4 separate regions of the Homo sapiens genome follow, and all the other regions are linked to region 1. Evidence: promoter capture Hi-C in 16 types of primary human blood cells and fetal thymus (Javierre and others, 2016). All regions are on one chromosome and are shown on one strand. Each heading gives the region's core, a stretch centred on a gene start or on the middle of the fragment in contact. The rest is flanking DNA. Distances are from core to core; before and after follow the strand shown. Region 1 holds the start of FAM168B (family with sequence similarity 168 member B). Region 2 has its middle 58 kb from the start of MGAT5. Region 3 holds the start of SAP130 (Sin3A associated protein 130). Region 4 overlaps SAP130 (Sin3A associated protein 130).

Region 1 (2,700 bases), core at 97-2,596:
CATTTATATTTTATTTTTATTTTTTTTTTTGAGACGGAGTCTTCCTCTGTCGCCCAGGCTGGAGTGCAGTGGCCCGATCTCGGCTCACTGCAACCTCCGCCTCCCGGGTTCAAGAGATTCTCCTGCCTCAGCCTCCAGAGCAGCTAAGGTTACAGATGTGCGCCACCACGCGCAGCTAATTTTTGTATTTTTAGTAGAGACGCGGTTTCACTATGTTGGCCAGGCTGGTCTTGAACTCCTGACCTCGTGATCTGCCCGCCTCGGCCTCCTATAAGTGCCGGGATTAAAGGCGTGAGACACCGCGCCCATCTGTTTTTATTTCATAAACGACTGAAAAAAGACCAGAGCCAGGCCTCCTCCCTTCCATCACTAATCTTTATTGCAATAACTCCCTCCTTTGTCGTCCTGTACCTAGCTCAGACCAGACGACACCCCAAACACAAACACCAAGACACGCACCTCTTTAATACGAAATAATAAACATACCTCCCCCAGAGAGACACCCTGAACTAACCAAATCATTGTAACTATACACTAAGCCTTACATAAAAATACTAACATTTGGCCGGGTGCGGTGGCTCACACTTGTAATCCCAGCACTTTGGGAGGCCAACGTGGGTGGATCACCTGAGGTCACGGGTTCGAGACTAGCCTGACCAACATGGTGAAACCCCCGTCTCTACTAACACAAAAATTAGCCAGGTGTGGTGGCGGGCGCCTGGAATCTCAATTACTCAGGAGGCTGAGGCAGGAGAATCGCTTGAACCCGGGAAGCGGAGGTTGCAGTGAGCCAAGATCGCGCCATTGTACTCCAGCCTGGGTGACAAGAGCGAAACTCCGTCTCAAAAAAAAACCAAAAAACCCCCTAACATTCTAGTACACTTCCCTGAACTCTTGTCTATAGAAATGATCCCGCACTTCTACACTTGAAACGCTGACTTGCATTCTCTAAAATCTGCACTCCTGAGCGGGCGCCCGCAGCCTCCGCACTGGCAAAGAATCTGTGAGCTGAGCTCCGCCCCGCTCCGACCCCGTAGTGGCGGTCACCCGGGGTGTGCTCGACTCCCGGGTGCGGCCTGAGGATCCGCGCCCTGGCGTCTGGGCACACACAAAGGTTTCTGCGGCGCGGGACTATCTCAAAATATAAATTAAATACTTTTTTCACAGACAGTTAATAAAAAAACTACAGCTACACCCGGCCCTTTCGCCAACTGGGACCGGCCCACTCCGCGCTCGCGCTCGCGCTCGTCCATCCGGGCGTCTCGAGGGCGCCGGCGGGAGCGAGCACGCTGCGCAGTCACGTGCCCGGCGCGCCCCCGTCGCGGCGCGCTCAGGCGGAAGTGAGGTCGGCGGCTCCGGTGGCTGCGCAGCGTCGGCGGGGAGCGCGGGCTGCGGAGAGGCGGGCCGGGCCAAGCGGAGCCGAGCGAGCGGGAGCGCGGCGTCCGGGAGGCGGCGGAGACGCGGGGCTCGGAGGGTCAGCCTCTTATCGTAGCAGGTCTCCTCGGCACGCCCCCCTTGTTTCGCCCCACGGCCAAGCCCGCCGCGGGCCGGCGTGCGCTGGTCACTGAGGCCCAGGTCGCCGCCGCGGCGCGGTGAGTGGGGGCGGGCAGCGGGCGACTGCGCGTCCAGGCCGGAAGTGCGGCGCTTTGTGCGGCCGGCTCGGGGCGGCGCCAAGGTCGGCCCGCGGCTCGGGGTCGCTGGGCGTCTGGACCGGCCTGGGCTGCGCTTTGTGCCGCGGGCAAGGCCGGGCGGGGGCCGGGGGCGGAGCTCGGCCGGACACGTACGCGTGCAGGTGCGGTCCGGGCGGCGCGGGCCTGCCGCCTAGGTGGCCGAGGTGGCTTCGCGGCGCGGGGCGTTCTCCTAAAGGTCGGGGTCACAGCCGTCAGGAATGCGAGCGTGAAACCCGGGGGCAGAGCTTTGTGACAATAGTCATTTCCAATGTGTAACTGCTCACTTTGTCTACCCACGAAGTAAAGATAATTTTTATTTTTATTTTTTTGCTTGGCGGAATCTGAGCGTTCTCCTTCCAGCTTGAAAAGGCACGATTTAAATTACAGATTTTTAAGATTTCCTTCAGAAAGGACGTTTCGTGGCCTAGCCTGGGTTAACTTTGAAAAAAGAGTGCAGTGCGCCTTTACGACGTCCACAAATAAGGGTATTTCTGTTTTATAGTGTATGTGAACATGAAGTGTGCATCTCATGGGCTGTTTGAGTTAATGTTTAATCATTAAAGTCAAACAAGAATATTTTGCAGTGTTTTCGCATGCAAGGAAGCTTTATAAATAAAAAGGTTTATATAGTTTCCACTCCTTAAACTTTCAGGTCATCCTTGTGTAATTTGAGATCACTTTTCTCAAATACTATGGATGAAAGATTCTAGATTAAATAAAACTTTTTGGTTTTGGCAAAAACAGGACACATTTTTAAGCTCTTGTAGATGAAGGAGTGGGTTATTTTTGCTTTGACAGCCAAGATTTGAGCAGTGTAAGGCTATTCTAATTTTGAAGCTAGTGTTGCAGAAATTGTGAAGATCTTGCTTCTCTTTGTCTTTACAAAGCAGGCTTACTTTGGTGGAGTTCCGTAGTTTAAAGGGAAATTATACCCAAGTTGTCTTAGACAGTTTCTTTTCCTGGATCAATTGAGCACTTTTTTTTTTTTTTTTGAGACGGAGTCTCCCTCTGTTTCCCAGACTGGAGTGCA
Region 2 (2,700 bases), core at 130-2,629, 3.1 Mb before region 1:
CTGAAAATACAAGCTTTGCTTTTCCAGTCACTCAATGTCTCAACCGACCTTTTGAATTGAATTTTCTACCAGACTCTCTCATATAAATTACTCAATTTCTGGAACAGGTCTAGCATCACCTCGTAATGCTAATGCTGTTTCTCCTGCCTAGAAGGCCCTTCCTGAGCTAGAAAATTCCACAACATCACGGTCAAGTTCAAACGTAAAAATGTTCCAACTCCTAAGGGCTTGGAAGACTTTGAAATATTGACTGAAGTATATTGGGGCATACATACCTGCCAACCCACCAATCTGCAGAGTTCCTAAAGGCAGAAGCAGTTTTTCATCTTTGTATCCCTGACCACCCCCCATACCATCCACCACATACATCCCAGTACCTGGCACAGTAAAAACTCAATAAATATTTGATGAACTAATTAAGAAATCATTGAACTGTGTTAAGGTTGTCCTTAAGAGTATTTTTTAAAGTAGTTGAAAATTCAAAGGCAGAGGCCACAACTTTAGGAAATCCCCTTGTAAATCAAACACACATATTCCTGTTAAACTAGTACAACTTAGCCTATTAAAATATGAGATAGGAGACATAGCCTTTAAACTAGGGGCAGCCAATGTTTTGGCTTCACCAAAGGGCCGCACTAGAAGAACTGTCTTGGGCCACACATAAAATACACTAACAGTAAGGAAACCTGATGAGCTAAAAAAAAATTCCATTTTTTAAGAAACTTTACAAATTTGTGTTGGGCCGCATTCAAAGCCGTCCTGGGCCACAGGTGGCCCGCAGTCTGGACAAGCTTGCTCTAAACTATAAAAGCGGAGCTAAAGATCCATGTCACTTACAAGCATCGACTATCATTAGGAGTTGAACCTTATGGGAAAACAATTTTGCACTTAACAGCAACCATTTGCTAGCTCATTAACAAATCTGGGCTGTCATATTTTTAAATGATCACTTTGCTTTGAAAATGAATCCTACATTAAATAGAAAACAAAACACGTATTTTAAAGAGTGTTTTAAAAAGCTCCCTTGGATCCATAGTTTTTTTTTTTTTTAAGCCTTAAGATCTGAAAGAAAAGGCCATATACCACACATTCAGACCCTCCATACTGGTACTTGAGTACCAGAAGCAACGGCCTAAAATCGTTTCAAAGAAAGGGGAAAAATATACTTTCAAACACCAACAATAGGTAAATTCCCAAGCACAGGCATATCCAAACCAATTAATTCTATGCTCCACAAAAATTTCCACTTCTGCTAACTTGTTTACAGCTTGGCATAGAGACTAAATGTCTAACTAATGGTTAAGAAACAACAGAGGCAATGAGCAAATTCAACTTCCGAAGAGCACCATGTCCAGAGTGCTACAGAGGAGCCTCCAGGGAACTACACCTTGAATAATATGTTGGGGAAAAAGTTGCTTTTAGTTTCATGAGGATCATCCTGACTTTTTACCCTGGAATTTTTGGAATGGGGTTTTCTAGACCATTTGTTCTAGACACTCAGATATATTAAGTGACTTGCTGGAGATCACAAGCCAGTTATAGGCACTGCAAAGCCTAGACCCCTCTGGTCTTCCAGTACATTCTCCAGCACAGCACACAGAATAAAGTCCATTTCTTAATACAATTGTCACAAATAAAATCCACTACGGAAAATAAGATTACCCAGCCATTAAGAAGTTTTTCCAAGTTCTTCCTAAAACACAGGCTCACGCACACCAGACATCAAACACAGAAAAGATTATAGACGTTAAAAAGGCGCTAGGTGAACTTTACAATGAGATTCACTTAATGCAGTAGGTACTAGGAATTAAAAAATGAGTAAGGCCAAAGGACACTCATCCACAAGTAGCCTAGTGAAGCAAACGGAAACCTACGTACATAAATTATGAAACCACCTGCTGCAGCCGATATGGGAGATAAAAACAGGGTATTATGGGATATTTCAGACTCCAGAATTTAAAGCTTTAGATCTTTCTTATCATTTCTAGGATAATTCTAGGAAAGTATACTCCAACTTAAGCAGATAAAAACATAAGAATTGTTCAACAGAATGCCTAGACTAAAACTGAAAGGCGATTTCAGAACTTTTGAGAAGATAAATCCTTGTCTAGAAACAGAAAATTCACACTTGAATCTTTTTTCTGAGTTAAAAATGTAAAGGAGTATTAAATTTGTTTATGACTAATAAGGTTTGAAGTCTAACACAGTACCTGCTAATTCAGATTCAAGTCACCCTCTTAGGTGGGTGAGAAATGAGCCATTGGTTTAGGAACCTGAAGGAATCCAAACTGTTCACAGGAATATTCCAAATGGTGTTTCAGTCCTGGAGGTTAACAACCTCCACTATGCATTATATGGATGCCGACTGTGTTCTGGGGGATATTTGAGATCAGAGGCCATAAAAATAAAATAGGTATGTGACTTTCACAGCCAGTCACAAATAAAATGCTGCTGGACCTTTTAAGTCTGAACAATCCACTCAGACTACAGAGAAAAGACTAGATATTAGTAAAAGAGCACCCAACTTCAACTGCATTATCAGCTTCCAGAAGTGAGGTTCTTACAGCAACATGAACCACCTGAACCACAAAATACCAAATATCAAGAAGGGGCGCAAATGCTCATGGAAGATATTCCACCAGGGCCTTGAACAGTACATGAAGTGAGGGCAGATTTGGAGAACACTCCTGTCTCTCCAAA
Region 3 (2,873 bases), core at 366-2,865, 3.1 Mb after region 1:
GGGTCTTTCCCATGTTGGTCAGGCTGGTCTCGAACTCCTGACCTCAGGTGATTCGCCTGCCTCGGCCTCCCAAAGTGCTGGGATTACAGGCATGAGCCACGTGCCTGGCATATATATATGTTTAGTGGGGTGTGGTGGCATGCGCCTGCAGTCCTGGCTACTCAGGAGGCTGAGGCAATAAGTTAGTTGAGACAAGGAAGTCGAGGCTGCAATGAGCTGTGATCACGCCACTGGACTTCAGCTTGGGCTGAACTGAGAACCTGTCTCAAAAAAACAAAAAACAAAAAGGATGACATTTGAAACTGTGGAAATACATTAAACCATTTAGGAAGGCAGTATAGCATTAGCGTGTTGGAGCCCTGAAGAATGCTGTATTTATGAGAAAGAGGAGGTATAATGGAGCTTGACATAGGAGTAGAAGCAGGAGACAGCCTGGTTCTAGAGGCCAAGGGAAGACATGAGGAGGAATTACTACTGGTCAGTAAGCTAAACAAGATGAGATCTAAGTGAGGACCGATGGGTTTGAAGTTGAGTAGGTGTTGGCAACTTTTGGGGAGCAGTCTGAGAAGAGTGGCAACTCCAAAAGGGATAAGGACTGCCTAGGCAGAGAGGAGGCTGAAGTCTATCACAGGAGTCACTCTTTAGAAGTTTGAGAATGAAGGCATGAAGGTGGAAAAGGAAAGTGGCTTGAAGAGGAGGAGTATCTGAGACTCATCCCTGGGCTATAGCCAGGAGCTACTCTCTTCTAACCAAGCAGTTGTCTTACACAGCTGTGCATGATAGGAAGAGGGGGGTTTGAGCCCCATTTATTTCCTAACTAATCACAAAACTCCAGGCCTAAATTACCATCTGGTAAGGGAAGAGGGAGACTTAATCTCTTATCAGACACAAATGTGGCCTCAAAAGATATGGCTAAGTCTTCTACAGGTGCATAAACTCCAACCCTGAACCCCAAGCAAAATGACAAAATAAAACTGCCCCCTTCAGCTCCTTTATAATCCGGAAAGCGCGCGCAGGTGCGCCCCGGCCGCCCAGAGCCCTGCGCCCTGCCGGCCTGCTTTCACAGAGCCGCGCCCGCGCTGCGCCTGGCGGCTCCCGCCGCGCGTAGGCTGTGCCGACCGCGGTTCCCGGTGGGGACACCGAGTCCCACTCGCGGCATAGGGAGGCGGGCACCGTCACGACACTGGCCCGGCCCGCGGATCCCTTGGCCGCCGCAGTTGGCCTCCATTACCCTTTCCCGCGCCGCGCCTCCCCGCGGGGAAAATGAAACCCAGTGCCCTCAGGTTAAGGCATAGGGTGGGATCCACTGTCTTCTCACTTAGCCAAGAGAAAAGGCAGAACCGACTTCAGACAGCAAAGGGGTGTGTTGCCCTGGCCGGGTCGCCTGCGGCCCCGCCCCGGCGCTCTCCACCTCCTTCGCGGCCCGCCCTCCTGACTCCGGCGACTACATTTCCCACAGGACGCCGCGGCTCAGAGGGGCGGGCCCGTCCGCTCTCCCGCTCACGACCACCGGCGACTGGCTGACTCGGCAGGGGGCGGGGCCTGCGCCAGCCAATAGACGGGAGGCTCGTTACGGCGGCGGAAGCAGCGGCGCTGGAGTGAGGGGTGGGGGGCAGAGTGCTAGCTCCCCGGCGGTGGCTGCGGGTCCGGAGCCTGGGGACGTCGGCCCCACAGACGGAGAGCGCGCGGGAGCGAGCTCAAGGCGGCGCGGCGGCCACTGGGCGCAGCACCCAGGTAATGGCGGGACGGGCGCCCGGGAGGGAAGGGGAGGAGACGAGGGGGCGGGGCGGCTGAGCCGGGCTGCAGCGTCCGTCCCGTTGCGCGTCCCCGGGGAAGGGCAGAGGATCCTCGTCTCCTGCGGCTCGGACCGCGGCTCTTTCGCGAGCTGGTCACGGCGGTTGGGCCGGCGACAGGGGCTGGGTGTCCTGTGGCGAGGAAGGGAGAGGCACCGGGAGGGGTGGGCTGACCCGGGCGTGGGGGCGTGGCGGACGTGGGCCTTGGCGGGGAAGCAGAGCGGCCGGGGGAGCGCGGGCGGGCGGGCGGGCGGGCGGCCGGCCCAGGGAGTTTGGCTCCTGGAGCAGTTTAAAGTGACTCTCCACATCCGGGCCCTGCGCCCGCCGCTTTCAGACCCTGGCTGAGGCGGGGCCTCCCCGCTCCCCGCCCCCTTCGCCGGGGGCGCCTGTCTTCCTCTGCCATTGGCTCAGCCTCGAGGGGTTTGGGCTGCCCCGGCCAGGCTCGCGCCTGATTGGCTGGCAGTCGGCGGGAGGGTGGGGCGGGCTCTGAACGTGCAGGTCGCTGTGGATTGGTCCTGGGCCTCCACTGACGCGTCGGGCGTGGGGCCAATGGGCGGGCGGGGGAGGCAGGGGCAGGTTCGGGGGAAGAGGACTGCGAGCACAGCGGCGGCCGGGTGGCGGGGGTGAGTGGGGCCAGCGGGGCTGGACAGCAGCGGGCCCCGGGCGCCGCCGCCGCGATCCCTCCCCGCGCCCGCCGAGCACATCGCCGCCGCCGAGATGGGCCCTCCGCGGCACCCCCAGGCCGGCGAGATAGAAGCGGGCGGTGCGGGCGGCGGGCGGCGGCTACAGGTAAAGAGGCACAGTGCTCGTCTTGTGGTCGGGTCCCCAGATCGCCCGTCCGCACCCCCACCCCGGAGACGGGGGTCTCACACTCCGAGGTGTCTGGAAACCGGCGTCCTCCGGTCTCAGCGGGGGCTTCGCGGTGGGGTGGGGTTGCGGGCGAATCGGGAGATCGCTTGGCTCCTGAGGGAAAAGTGGGGGGCGATTTTAGGGAAGATGGAGAAGGTGTAGGGTCCTCTGGCTCTGTGAGGGGATCTGTGGAAGAGAAGGAAAAGGAAATCCGTAAATGGAGGCCTTTGC
Region 4 (2,736 bases), core at 181-2,680, 3.1 Mb after region 1:
TGAAGTGCAGTGGTGCGATCCCAGCTCACTGCAACCTCTGCTTCCTGGGTTCAAGCGATTCTCCTGCCTCAGCCTTCCAAGTACTTGGGACTACAGGTGTGCACCACCATGCCCGGCTAATTTTTATACTTTTAGTAGAGACAGGATTTCACCCTGTTGGCCAGGCTGGTCTCGAACTCCTGACCTCAAGTGATCTGCCTGCCTCGGCCTCCTGAAGTGCTAGGATTACAGGCGTGAGCTACTGTGCCCGGCCAAAAATCATTTTTGTCTTTTTAACACAATGGCTCTGTGTATCATTAAAGTAATACTGTTGAAAGATGAGATTAGGCCAGGCGCAGTGGCTCACACCTGTAATTCCCAGCATTTTGGGAGGCCAAGGCGGGCGGATTGTCTGAGATCAGGAGTTTGAAACCGCCTTGGGCAACATGGTGAAACCCTGTCTCTACTAAAATGCCAAAAAATTAGCTGGGCATGGTGGTGCGTGCCTGTAATCCCAGCTACCTGGGAGGCTGAGGTGGGAGAATCACTTGAGTCCGAGAGGCAGAGGTTGCAGTGAGCCAAGATCGTGCCACTGCACTCTAGCTGGGACGAGAGAGTGAGACTCCATCTCACAAAAAATAAGAAAGATAAGATTAATCTAGCTGAATCACATACAGGAGGTCTGTCCCCTTAAGCACTTTCAGGGGACAGACAGATGTATGAAACAACTGGGTTTAAGATAATAAGGAAGTCTTGATTATGATACTGGGTAGTATCTGTCTAGCCTACAGCTTTCAAGATAAATACTTTTCTGGCCAAGAAAACAGAGTCGGAGGAGTATTAGGCCTCTAGTAGTATATGTGATACATATGAAGGGTTGGAGGAAGACGAGAACCAAGACAAGGAGCTCCCGAGTGAGGAAGCTGGTGCTGTAGCCCTAGTGTGAGACACGCACCTGCACATGGTAGAAGCGGCAGGTAAAAGGGCTGTAGATGAAAAGCAAGGATGAGGAATGGGCAGAGCTCGGCCATTTAGATGCATGTTTCAGGGTTAAGAGCAAGGGAAGAATCAGAACTCAGGTGATTCGAAGAATAATGGTGGGTATGTGGATGAAGCCCAGTGTGGAGCTTATTTTTTAGAGGAAGATTTCACACGTAAGTGTGATAAGGGCACTCTGTCCATGTGAAAACATCCAGAAAGGATATGGGCACCCTGAACGATTACCTAGAAAAGAATACTGTTACCTTGAGTTGCCCTTGTACTCACTAACGTAGATGGCCTGAGAGCCAACAGCTCTATTCAGCAGCTGAGTAGGCCCTCTGTGGAGGTGCTGGGTTGGATGGCAGCGTAAAATGTCTACACCAGGACCAACAACAGACCTGTGGCAACTCTAGATTGAAGGGTGAGATCCCATTGGTACCAATAGTAGGGCAGAATTTTGACTCCAATCACATTTGTACAGGAGGGACTCATGTACTGTTCAATCAAAATGGGATTTTTTTTTTTTTTTCAAAACACTTGTCAGTGGTATCTTAAGGGATTTTTTTTTTTTAATAATTCTGACTCTTAGTCTTTTTTTTTTTTCTTTTCTATTTTTTCAAGACAGTTTCTCTCTTGTTGCTCAAGCTGGAGCGCAATGGTGCGGTCTTGGCTCACTGCAACCTCTGCCTCCCAGGTTCAAGCGATTCTCCTGCCTCAACCTCCTGAGTAGCTGGGATTACAGGCGCGTGCCACCACACCCGGCTAATTTTTTTTGTATTTTTAGTCAAGACAGGGTTTTACTGTGTTAGCCAGGCTGGTCTTTTAACTCCTGATCTCAGTTGATCTGCCCACCTCAGCCTCCCAAAGTGCTGGGAATTACAGGCGTGAGCCACCGTGCCCGGCCTGGCTCTTGGTCTTATAACAACCTATCTGAAAAGAGAATTCCTTAATTGGAATGGTGAGAATTTATTTTTACTTGGGCAGAAACATGCTTATCTGTAGGCTCAAGTTTCAAATTACACATTTAGTATTTGACTTCCTCTATTTTATTTTTGTTTTAAATGAACTGTTTTTTCTCTTTTGGTAGTCTCGGCCACCTGTGACCACCTCCAATGCCATCCCTCCTGCTGTGGTAGCAACTGTCTCAGCCACCAGAGCTCAGTCTCCAGTCATCACTACGACAGCGGCGCATGCTACTGATTCAGCACTTAGGTATACATGGGGAGTATGAAGTTTGAACCTTCCTGCCATCCTCCTCCTTCACTCTTTTTTCTTTCGTTCCTTCATTTAAGTAAATATTTATTGAGTGGCTTTTTTTTTTTATAATGAGCTATGTAGTGTTCTAAATCCTGGGGCTAAAGCTGTGAACAAAGAAATTGCTGCCCACACAGAGCTTCTGTTTTTACAGGCTGGAGACGCGATAAATATGTAGCTTTTTAGATGGTGAAAAGTGCTTTGGAAAAAAATAAGGGTAAAAGGGATTGGGAGTGACAGGGTGGGTGGTGCAGGGGACTTACAGTTTCATGTAATGTGGTCGGAGAGGGCTTTGTTGATAAGAATACATTTCAGTAGAAAATGAAAAGATATAATGAAGTGAGTGAGCTATATGGTTATCGGAGAGAAGAGTATTCTAGGCAGTGGGAACAGTGAGCGCAAAGGCTCTGAGACAGGATTGTGTTTGCCACTTATAAGGACCACCAGTGAGGCCAAGGTGGCAAGAGTTAGATTTGGGGAGGTAGCAGGGTCTCCAGATCACATAGGCCCTTAGGAGCCACA

The links. The method cuts DNA at HindIII sites, captures the fragments that hold promoters and counts their contacts. A CHiCAGO score of 5 or more calls a contact.
Region 2: a contact is called between a fragment that was not itself captured here and the fragment with the promoter of FAM168B in region 1, in 1 of 17 cell types (total CD4 T cells). The highest score is 8.2, in total CD4 T cells.
Region 3: the fragment with the promoter of SAP130 here is called in contact with the fragment with the promoter of FAM168B in region 1 in 1 of 17 cell types (monocytes); the score reaches 5.4 in monocytes.
Region 4: a fragment that was not itself captured here is called in contact with the fragment with the promoter of FAM168B in region 1 in 1 of 17 cell types (M0 macrophages); the score reaches 5.4 in M0 macrophages.

What each region holds. Positions count from the first base shown.
Region 1 is chr2:131,092,106-131,094,805 of GRCh38, reverse strand. It overlaps FAM168B (family with sequence similarity 168 member B), which reads left to right and starts at 1,346. Exons shown (of 7, transcript NM_001009993.4): 1 at 1,346-1,592. RefSeq lists a silencer at 1,173-1,892. The HindIII fragment of the contact is 2,381 bases long and covers 1-2,276 here.
Region 2 is chr2:134,194,753-134,197,452 of GRCh38, reverse strand. It overlaps a transcript of MGAT5 not described here. Among named protein-coding and RNA genes, the nearest start is that of MGAT5, 58 kb to the left of the region's middle. The HindIII fragment of the contact is 1,171 bases long and covers 794-1,964 here.
Region 3 is chr2:128,026,801-128,029,673 of GRCh38, reverse strand. SAP130 (Sin3A associated protein 130) reads left to right here and starts at 1,615. Exons shown (of 21, transcript NM_001330301.2): 1 at 1,615-1,734. RefSeq lists silencers at 928-1,077, 1,328-1,847, 1,948-2,287, 2,348-2,637. The HindIII fragment of the contact is 20,582 bases long and covers 1-2,873 here.
Region 4 is chr2:128,009,705-128,012,440 of GRCh38, reverse strand. SAP130 (Sin3A associated protein 130) reads left to right here. Exons shown (of 21, transcript NM_001330301.2): 7 at 2,048-2,172. Among named protein-coding and RNA genes, the nearest start is that of SAP130, 17 kb to the left of the region's middle. The HindIII fragment of the contact is 6,120 bases long and covers 1-2,736 here.